Linked DNA regions of Homo sapiens: all the other regions are linked to region 2. Evidence: promoter capture Hi-C in 16 types of primary human blood cells and fetal thymus (Javierre and others, 2016). All regions are on one chromosome and are shown on one strand. Each heading gives the region's core, a stretch centred on a gene start or on the middle of the fragment in contact. The rest is flanking DNA. Distances are from core to core; before and after follow the strand shown. Region 1 has its middle 19 kb from the start of ZNF648. Region 2 holds the start of RNASEL (ribonuclease L). Region 3 has its middle 36 kb from the start of ZNF648. Region 4 has its middle 65 kb from the start of ZNF648.

Region 1 (2,700 bases), core at 187-2,686, 510 kb after region 2:
TGATAATACTCTGCTTCTGGTCATAATTCTTCTGCAAAATTGTTATATATACCTCTTTATATATAAAGACAAAAACTCATCCTTTAGTGGCCTCCAGAGACCCCGGGAAAGAGCCCAACTCCATAGCATGTCCCGCAGGTCTGCTGTGGGACACTCACCCCTATAGCATCATCCCCATATCCTGCTACATTCCAGCCATCCTGACCAGCTCATGGCTCCCCACACTCTCTCAGTAGCCCCCACCCTCTCCTCATTAACTCCTGATCATCCTCAGGCCTCTGTTTAGCCATTTTCTGAAACTCTCCCACTGCCCACCGCCCACCTCCACTACCACCCCCACCCCCACCCCCACCCCCCCCCACCACCCCCACTATGGTTCATTTAATAGTTTCTCCTGTGTGCTCCCATGTGCTCTGGGTTTACCCCATTGAAGCCCTTAGGGCACTTTCAAACCATCTGCTCCCCTCTTTGCTTCATCTGACTGTAAACTAACTTGAAGATAGAAACTGTGTGTGGATTCCTATTGCTTCAGTGGCACCAAGCACAGCACCTGATTTAAAGAGGGTGTTCAGCAAGATTTCTTAAGGAAATGACACTCAACATGAGACTTAAGGGTTTGGGGTGGGGAAGAGGTACAATTTCAAGAAAGGAAAGAACATGGCAGCAAGTGCAAAGCCCCCAGGGTTGGAAAGAACTTGATATATCCAAGGAACATGCTAAGGACAGTGTGGCTGGAATGTAGAGAGGTAGCGGGCAGGTGGCAAAGGATTTGGTCTGGAAGGTTCAAAGCATGGTGGGAAGTAATTGAAACAGGTTACACTGGATAGAAACAATATCCTATATCCTCAACATCTTCTCTTCCCCTTTTTGCTCTCATGAAACATGGCTCTCTTCTGAGAATAGCTCCTTCTCAAGTGGAGGATTAATTTTCTCTTCCACATCCCTCCTACCACTAGGTGGGGCAAGTGTCTTCCTCACTCCTTTGCTATTTCAGACCATTCTTTCTCTCTTAAAGCTCCCCAGCTTTGAATAAGCAGCCTGTGGCATCCACCACTCCTCCATGAAGTCTCCCACAAACCCCAGAGGGCTTCCTCTCATTCCTTATATGGATCTCAGCACCTGGTTCACCATCATTTTCACCAACCCCACTTGTCATCATTCTAAGAACTACAACTCTGTGGAGCTGGCTTTTTGCTTCCCTGAGTCTGTGAGCTCCTCTTCTCCAAGGATCTTGTCCTTTACTGTATCAAATATGCAAATGGCCCAAATCTAAAGCTTGTCCTCAATAACAACTGCACTCCCTCTGCAGTCTCAATTTGGTGCAACTCCCTCTCTGGCCAGCACCTCCTTAAACTTCCCAGCTCGCTGCCCCTGAAATCCCACCACCACCCATCCTTCCACCCAGGGGAAGTCTGGCCCTTCCACCTTTTAACTCGTCCTGCTCCCCTCAGGCTCTCTCTCCGCATCTGACTTGGCTTCAATTCCATGCTTCATCACATTAGTCACTTCTTTTTCATAACCCCTCATCTTTATACCTTTCTTTAGTTTCGTTGTATTTGTCTGGCAAAACTCTAACAATGGTGAACTCCAAGCTTCTGCCCACACAGCCAACATGTTGGGGGAAAGCACACCATCTTCCTGGCTGGCCTAACTTCAATTCATGACCACTAACCTTGCATGGGCCTTTATTGCTACCTGGCAATTATGAACCCATTCACTCTGCAAATGAATATTTTATGCCTTTTTTCTTTTTAGACTTCCCACACTTCCTCCACTATCATCCATCTCAGCCAACGACCTTGCTTCTTATTTTGCTGAGAAAAAGCAACCCTAGCAAGAGTACTTCCTCAAGCTGCCACCTCCACATCTAGCCACACCCTGTGCCTGTGTCCATGACTTCCGCTCTCCTTTTGCTGTGGACCAGCTGCCTGTGCCGAAGCCACTCCTGTACAGGCCCTGAGTCCCATCCTCTCTTACTTTCCCAAGGACACAATCCTATTTCTCTATTCCCACATAATCACTCCTTGAATAATCTGTTTAGACTCACAGACTACAATTCCTCTCCTCCCTTAAATCTACTCCAATCAGGTTTGATCCCCATGTAGCTTAATTGGATGGCCAATTCTTAGTTCTCATTAATAGGAACTCTCAGTAGTGTTTGACATCATGTGGCACTCCCTTCTCCTTGAACCATTTTCTTCCCTTGATCTCCAGAATATCACAGACATCTGACTTCTCTTCAAACCTTTTGTCCACATCTTTTCACCTCTTTTGCTGGGCATTTCTCATCTCCCCTACTTATGAACATTGGACTGGTCCAGGGCTCAGTCCTCGAATCTCTTCACTGTATACGCTCCCTCGGTGACTCATAGAATCCGATGGCTTTAAGTGTAATCCACACGTTGATAATTCAAATTGTATTTTCTACCAAGATCCTCATCTTGAAATCCAGATGCCTCTCCAACTGTCGCATCAATGTTTCCAAGTGGAAACCTCATCCAAACTGAAGCTCCTGGACTTTCTCTCCTAAACTCTGTTTCTCCCACAGTCTTCCCCTGCTCACTTAATGGCAGCTCCATCCTTCTGGTTGTTCAGGCCAAAAACCTTAGAGTTGTCCTTGACTCCTCTCTTTCTCTCACACCCCATAGCCAATATATAACAAAATCATGTTAGCTCTAACTTTAAAACGTATCTAGAAAT
Region 2 (2,700 bases), core at 126-2,625:
CCGAGTAGCTGGGATTACAGGTGCACAACACCACACCTGGCTACTTTTTGTATTTTTAGTAGAGACGCGGTTTCACCATGTTGGCCAGGCTGGTCTTGAACTCCTGAACTCAGGTGATCTGCCTGCCTTGGCCTCCCAAAGTGCTGGGATTACAGGTGTGAGCCACCACGCCTGTCCAACAAGTATTAATTAAATGAATAATGGGTTAAGGATTTTTGAACTTTGTCCTGAAAATGATGGTGGGTCAATGATGCAGGGTGGAACAATGGATGAAGGGCTAGGAAGCAAGTCATCAATTTCTTGCTATAAATGATGACAAGGACTCGAATGGTCATCCCTTTGTAGATGAAAGCAAGAGACTTGGTGTTGGGATGAGGATGAGGGGTGGCCTCCGGGTGATGGTGCCATCTGTGGAGATGGAATAAGTGGGAGGAGGGGCAGATTTAGGAAAAGATGAGTATTTCCATTTGACACATATTCAAGATTTGTAGGTCTAAAGCTCAGCAGAGAGGCTGGGGTTAGAGAGCGAGGCCTGGGAATCCCTGGTGTATAAGGGGTGGTAGAGGCCCCGGGTCTGGATGGTGTGACACAGGTGGTCGTCAAGTGACCATGCACTACTTGTTGTTCACAAGTCCCAGGGCTTTGTCTCCCCAGCAAGACTGGGTATTCTTTGGGGATGGAAATACTTTCCACTACAGCACTAAGTACACAGTACACAGCTCATTGCTAGGAAGATAGTCAAGAACAGAACTTGTAGAGCAGAAAGGAACCTTCAAAACCAAGTTATAGGAGAGAACTGAGGCCCTACATGGTTAAATCACATGCCTGAGGTCACTCAGCTAAGCAGCCACAGAGCTGGCTGTAGGATCAGGTCTCCAGACTGCCAGTCCGGTACCCTTCTGAGAAGGCCGCACTGCCTCAGAGCTGTGAGTTGAGTGAGCTGAGAAAGGTGACAGGGCTTGGGCTTTGGGCTTACTTAGCTTCTATGAGCCTGCGTTTCATAATCAACAAGATTGTCAGGGGTTAACTGGGACCATGCTGCATGTAAAGCATTGTGTCTGGAACACAATAGGTGCTCAATATGTGTTTACTTTCCATTCCTTTCTTCCAAGAAGACCAGAATTTGCAATGACAAAGAAAGGATGCAAGAGTGATGGATGCAGTTGGCTGCTGCCACCTGAAAGGCTGCAAGACTGAGAGGTGAGTGACATGACCCCGGGCATCACATTCCTCATCAGCAGACAGAAAGTGGCTATTGCTTTCCTCCAGAAGGTGTGCAAGTAGAAGCTTTGCTCCTGGTGCCAGAGTGAGCCTGTGGCTGCTTTCCCTCCCACACTCCTCACTCCTTTCTTGGCTCCGCCCTGCTGACTCAGTGACGCAGCAGGAGGAAACTGCTCGGGCTGCAAGCAGTCTTCCAGGCTTTGCGGCTGCCAAAGGAATAATTGAGACGTCTGAGTTGAGCAGGTAAGGCAGGCAGAAGGAGGAAAGCTAGAAAACCTCGATAAGTCGATCCTGAAGAATTCTTGGGCTTTGGAGACTGGAGAGGCCAGGGGCTGGAGGACTTGGGAAGTGGGAGGGGAGCTCCCAGCCCTTGGCTGCCCGGAAGGATCTTCCTCCAGTGCCCTTCCAGAGTTCTGTCAGAGTCCACACGTCATTTATCCATGTCCTCAGTTTCTCAGGCATCTCTTTGCGACTTACTCAGGTCGCACAGAGAAAGTGAAATTGAAAGCAGGATTGTCTGTTGGAGTACTTCCGCAGGCTCGTCTCTTCTCTACTCTGATGCGTCACTCAGGGCTTCCTTGATATTTCCTCTCCTTCCCGGCTCCTTTGTTTATACCAGCCCACCTCACATCTGATTGTAATGGGGACGGTCTACACAAACACTTTGGTTCAAAGATTTCATTGCCTGGTGATCGTGTATGTGTTGCACAATTAATTAAACTTCTAAGAGGCTAATCAATTAACCTCTGAGGCTTTGAAACTGTCAGAGTGGTGAGATTGCTGAAAAAGGGTTGCTTCGTGAATTCTATAGCAGATGCAGTTATTTAAATATTCAGGTAACAGTTTCGGGCTGTCTGATGATTGAACTGGATCTGTAATTCTCAGATCTGATTGACAGTTGGACGAAATTGATAGCTGCCAGTTGCCTATTCGTGTAGTAGCTATATGCACATGTGTAGGGAGAATAGAATTCACTAAGCAATTTATTTTTTCATAACGGGATATAATTAGCTCTAACATTCATTGAGTGGCTAATATTTGCAACACTCCATACTTTAATGTACTTTACACACATGACTGTATTTATTTTTGTCTCCATTTCAGGAAATAGAAAATTGAGATTCAACAATCCAAGGTTACAGGAAGTAATAGTAAAAAATTACACAGCCACAAGCTCAAACTTAGATCTCCCTAAGGTCAGAGTACAAGCTCTTTTCACTACTGCAGATACTCCTTGACTTATGATGGGGTTACATACAGATAAACCCATCCTAAATTGAAAATATTGTAGGTCAAAAGCACATTTAATACACCTAATCTACTGAACGTCATAGCTTATCCTAGCTTACCTTAAATGTGCTCAGAACACTTACATTAGGCTACAGTTGGGCAAAATCATCTAGCTCAAAGCTTATTTTATAATAAAGTGTTAAATGTCTCATGTATTTATCGAATGCTATGCTGAAATAAAAAACAGAA
Region 3 (2,700 bases), core at 127-2,626, 490 kb after region 2:
ACTGGATTACCATATACAGAAGAAGGAAACTGGATCCCTATCTCTAACCATATATAAAAATTAACTCAAGCTGAATTAAAAGACTTAAATTAAATTTAAGACCTGAAACCATAAAAATTCTAGAAGGATATCTAGGAAAACCTCTCTGGACGTTGGCCTATGCAAAGAATTTATGACTAAGACCCCAAAAGCAAATGCAACAAAATAAACACAAAAATAAATAAATGGAACATAATTAAACTAAAAAGCTTTTGCACACCAAAATAAATAATCAACAGAGTAAATAGATAACCTATAGGATGGGAGAGAATATTGGCAAACTCTACATCTGACAAAGGACTAATATCCAGAATCCACAAGGAACTCAAACAAATCAGCAAAGGAAAAAAAAATCCCATTGAAAAGTGGGCAAATGACATGAACAAACATTTTTCAAAAGAAGATATACAAATGGCCAAATAACATGAAAAAATGCTTGATATTCCTAATCATCAGGGAAATGCAAATTAAACCATGATGAAATACCACCTTATCCCAATCAGAATAACTATTACTAAAAAGTCACAAAAGCAATAGATGTCAGTACGGATGTGGTGAAAAGGGAACGCTTATACACCATTGATGGCAATGTAAATTACTACAACCTCTATAGGAAACAGTACAGAGATTTCTCAAAGAACTAAAAGTAGATCTGCCATTCAATCCGGCAATCCCGCTGCTGGGTATCTACCTAAAGGAAGAGAAGTCATTATACCAAAAAGACACCTGCACATGTATGTTTATAACAGCACAATTCACACTTGCAAAGATATGGAATCAACCTAAGTATATACCAACTGGTGAGTGGATGAAGAAAATGTGTGTGTGTGTTTGTGTGTGTGTGTGTGTGTGTGTGACCTTTGGAAGCTTCATTCCTTACTGATTTCTTCATTAGCAAAGCAGCAAAAACCCTCATCACAGCGATTCCAATCCCATTACCATCATCATGTTCATTGCCAAAGTTATGAGCATTACATGACGAGCATTACTAACGTGTCCTCTATAATCCTTCTATGTGACACCAACTTCAATACTTACGAAATGCTTTTAACCAAATTAGAGCAAGGAGAACTTTAACATTTAGAGGGATAGATGTGTGGCCATCTCCTTTCACAAGGCAAAGTCATCACTCCTACATAGGTTCTCACAGATGGTCCACAGGCACGTTGGGTAGGACCCTAGTCAGTGTGAAAAGCTGAGCAAAGCAGAGCTTTTCTAAGCCCTCAAGTCTGGCAGGACTGCAGTACACAGGTATGCCTGATCATAGACTGCCACATGGTGGGATTTTACTCTTCCAATGTGTAAGTCTTTTCACCATTGAATTGTAGAATCATTGAAGACAGGACTTGCCACTCTTCCTTTTTATTTCTCCCTGGATACCTAGAACTAATTCTGGGTGTTCATTAAATTCTTGTCGATAGAACAATTCAACAGATATCCACGAAATGTTTATTGAATGGCTCCTGTGTGACAGGCACTGTGCTAAATAAACAGATGTTGTTTTAAAGGTCCAAGGAACTCCCCAGGTAGGTGTTTTCTATGACAACACTGTTATCAACTGCTTTCCAAAACACAGCCCATCAGATCTGGGTTTATCCCTAGAATAGCTGCATCCTTGAAGTGACGGGAGGGTGGCATTCTCTGCCTTCACAAATGCCAGCTCCAGCCCAGTGTCTACTGTGGGTTGGGCCAGTCCTTGTCCGAGTGAATCATGGTCTGCTGCTGAGCTCAACAGGCTAGAAGCAAGTTACTGCCACAAGTTGTATGGACCAGTAGGGCACCAAAGTCACTCAGAGACAAAGCTTAAGGCTGTTACTGGTTTACTGTGCATTGAATTGCTTTCTGAAATTCTGGTAGTGAGATTGAGGAGAAAGTGCAGTGGGAGGGATAGGGTGTTAGAAAAACAGGTAGGGAGAATCAAGCAAGGGGAGCATTTCAGAGTGACATCAAAACTGTGTCAAGTGTCTTCTTCAATGGTTGTAAAGGTCAGAGCAGCACTTACAAACTTTGTCCCCTTGATAAGGGGAATGAAACAGAAAACTTGAATGTGGTTATTTTATCATGCCTGTTCTTAGAAAACAATCCTAGAAATGCCTCCTGTTGGCCAGCCTGGTTCTTGACCCGCTTTCAGAGTTTCAACCTGTAGATACCTGAGCACACCCAAGCAGGTTCTATGCAGACAGAGCCATCTTCTGCATGTACTTTCTAGGAAACCAGGTATTCAGGGACAAGGTACAGCATCCTCTGAACCTGCACCAACATCCTGAAAGCTGATGCCAGGTCAGGATCTTGCTATGGTGACCACAGATTTCCTGGAAAGCTGTTGTCTTGCCTGCAGAATGCTGGCATAGTTGTTCTTCAGATAGCTCCTCTCTGGTCTCCTACTCCTCTCTTTATCCATGTCCCAGGGCAAAATGGCCATGCAGCTGAAGGCTGTAGGGACATTCAGTCTTTCCTATGACCATTTTCTGCCCACACTGATGACCTCCTTCTAGATCTCTGCAAGAATTCAGACCTTCCCTGAACCAGAAGTAATTGTGGCATTGGCAGAAAGCTGAATCTCTATACTCCAAATGCAATGGGAAAAAGGTCTTGTGGTACAGCAGCCACGGCTCCCTGAATCAGATTGGCTTTGGAGAGAGCCAGGGCCAAGAGCCTTCT
Region 4 (2,700 bases), core at 58-2,557, 460 kb after region 2:
CTGCCACTCACTTGAGCCTCCCTCCATGGCTGCTGACTTCTTTCTTTTCTTTCCCTGGGTTTATTGCCCTTCTTGCTGCCTTCTCCACTTTGCTATTTGAAGATGATTGCTGATGGAGATCAGAAAATTTTACATCAGCACTTTGTATACACTGGAGGAAAGAAAATAGAGAAAGGGAAGATGCAGCCAGCCATTTCTCTGTTTTACCCGCAGGCCTGGACAGCAGCCTTTTCCACTTGCCTCCTCCGACCTGCAGTCTGAATTCCATTACCAGGACAGGGCTTGCCCCAGGGAGGGGACCTCCTTCTAGAGCATTCAATGAAGCTGCAAGTATGTTGGTGTCCACAGTCAGCAGAACCTCTCATGACCATTTATTACATACCTGGGATCCTCTTAGATCTGTCAAATAGGAATGGTACTGTGGAGCTGCACCAGCTGGCGTGTAGCCTCAACAGCCTAGGGTGCTGCCTAGGGAATAGAGGGGCTTAGAAAAAGAGGTGATTCCTCTACAGTGACACACCAGAGGCAAAACCGAGGCTCATTTCTACTTGTATTAATCTCTTTTTTTTTTTCCTGTAATCTGTATGATTGAAGGATTGAGAGGAGTATTCTGCATCTTTTTAAATGGCAAAATAAACTGTTCAGGTATCCACTGTTAAGGTAGAGGGGAATGTGGTGTTGCAAGAAGAAAATTGCCCTGCTAGCACAGATATGAGAAGACAACAACTCCCAGAGCATGCAGTCAGCACCATTACTTTCCCTTAACTCCCCAAGGTGCCCTCCTTGCATTTATCTTTCTCTCCTACATTGATCTTCACTGGAGAATAAAAATTAGAGACAGTGAGGAATTGCATGTGATTTGTACTGGGTTCCTGGATCCACGCCCTCCTTCCTAGCCCTGTTCCTCCAGGCTGGCTCCACTGTGGCCTTAATAAACAGAGGGTGGGGGGCTGATGAAGACATGCAGAGAAGACTTGACTGCAGTCTGTGGTGTGGGCTGGCCTGGGTACAAGTCAGCAGAGGCACATTCCATCAGTTGGCAATGTTATGAGCATAATAACTTCCTTAAGTGATACAGGTTGTAGTCTTGTAGCCTAAGTTCTACAGAGCTTCTTTAAAATGTTTTCTAAGCATGTTCAGCAATGGCAGTTTACTATTAGTAATATAAATCATAGACCAGTCACAATGTTGTTTCTTTTTAATATTCCCAATTTTCTTACACTAAGTCTCTGACCAATATCAAAAAAAAAGATTCTTCAATTCATATCATCCTAATCTAAATGAATAAGTCTATGAAAAATGGCTGTTTCCATATTAGCTTCTTTGGACTACTTTGGAGCAGTTTTGGTTTTCGACTCTAGCCCCTCTCTTCCATAAAGCAGCCCTGTTAAAAGACTCTGTTTTAGATCCCTGATTTTGGCTACTGGTGAGAACCATCAAGGGAAACAGCCAGCCCTCTGTGTCTGTCCCACCTACAGACCTGGACAGTGGCCTTCTCCACTTGCCTTCTCCGACCTGAAATCTGCATTCCATTCCAACACAGGGCCTGCCCCAGGGAGGGGACCTCCTTCTAGAGCATTCTTTCCTACAGTCCCTGATGTCTGTGTTCTGAGATAAAGCAAGGCTTGTACTCCATCCTCTTTGCCAAGTATCTGCTTATCACTAGGCAAGGCAAATATTATTGGATGTTTCAAATTACCACTAATCAAATTCCAGTGCAGTCCAAATCATCTGGTTAATCATTTTGAGCAGTCCTGGTATTGACAAGCCCTTGAAGGAGGTCAACAGCTTCAATGAGGATAAATATCAGCATGCCCTTTTGTACTGAATGTGTGAAATTGACATTCAAAGATATAAGCTCCACCAGGGTAGGAATTTTCATCTGCTTTTTCTCTAATCTATCCCCTAGATACACCTAGAATGCTACCAGAACACTACCCAGATGAGTGCCAGGGACATAGTAGGTATTCAAGAAATGATTCTTACTATTTTTTTTGCAATTTATTTAAATTTTATTGTATATATTTAAGGTGTGCAAGATGACATTTTGATGTACATAGTGAAATGGTTACTGTAGTCAAGCAAATTAACATATCCATCATCTCACATCATTACTCATTTTTGTGTGTGTGTGAGGCAAGAGCAACTAAAATCTCTTTTAGCAAAAATCCCCAATATAATACAATACTATTAGCTGTAGTCTTCATGCTGTACATTAGATCTCTATACTTGTTCATTCTACATATCTGCTGCTTTTTATATTTTGACCTATATCTCCCTATTTCCTTCCTCCCCAGCCCCTGCTCTTGTAATTACTTTTTTATTCTCTACCTCCGTATATTCAACTTAAAAAAATATTTCATATGTAAGTGAGATCATACAGTATTTCTCTTTCTGTGTTTAGTTATTTCACTTAGCATAATGCCCTCCAGGTTCATCCATGTTTTTACAAATGGCAGGATCTCATTCTTTTTTAGGCTGAATAGTATTCCATTGTGTATATGTACTACAGTTTCTTTAGCCATTCGTCTGTCAACAGACACTTTGATTATCCTGGCATTGCGAATAATGCTGCAATGAGTATGGGGGTGGATATATTTTCATCTCTTTCAGGTATATACCAAGAAAAGGGATTGCTGGCTCATCTGGTAGTTCTATTTTTAATTTCTTTCAGAACCTCCATACTGTTTTCCACAGTGG

Evidence for each region. Contacts are between HindIII fragments. The CHiCAGO score rates a contact against its expected background, and 5 or more counts as called.
Region 1: a contact is called between a fragment that was not itself captured here and the fragment with the promoter of RNASEL in region 2, in 5 of 17 cell types (erythroblasts, M0 macrophages, M1 macrophages and 2 more). The highest score is 11.6, in erythroblasts.
Region 3: a contact is called between a fragment that was not itself captured here and the fragment with the promoter of RNASEL in region 2, in 4 of 17 cell types (M1 macrophages, M2 macrophages, M0 macrophages and 1 more). The highest score is 6.7, in M1 macrophages.
Region 4: a contact is called between a fragment that was not itself captured here and the fragment with the promoter of RNASEL in region 2, in 2 of 17 cell types (erythroblasts and M1 macrophages). The highest score is 7.5, in erythroblasts.

Annotation. Positions count from the first base shown.
Region 1 is chr1:182,079,423-182,082,122 of GRCh38, reverse strand. No RefSeq gene overlaps it. Among named protein-coding and RNA genes, the nearest start is that of ZNF648, 19 kb to the right of the region's middle. The HindIII fragment of the contact is 317 bases long and covers 1,278-1,594 here.
Region 2 is chr1:182,587,931-182,590,630 of GRCh38, reverse strand. It overlaps RNASEL (ribonuclease L), which reads left to right and starts at 1,375. Exons shown (of 7, transcript NM_021133.4): 1 at 1,375-1,464. RefSeq lists an enhancer at 1,500-1,659. The HindIII fragment of the contact is 1,344 bases long and covers 1,290-2,633 here.
Region 3 is chr1:182,096,737-182,099,436 of GRCh38, reverse strand. No RefSeq gene overlaps it. Among named protein-coding and RNA genes, the nearest start is that of ZNF648, 36 kb to the right of the region's middle. The HindIII fragment of the contact is 935 bases long and covers 909-1,843 here.
Region 4 is chr1:182,125,441-182,128,140 of GRCh38, reverse strand. No RefSeq gene overlaps it. Among named protein-coding and RNA genes, the nearest start is that of ZNF648, 65 kb to the right of the region's middle. The HindIII fragment of the contact is 3,573 bases long and covers 1-2,700 here.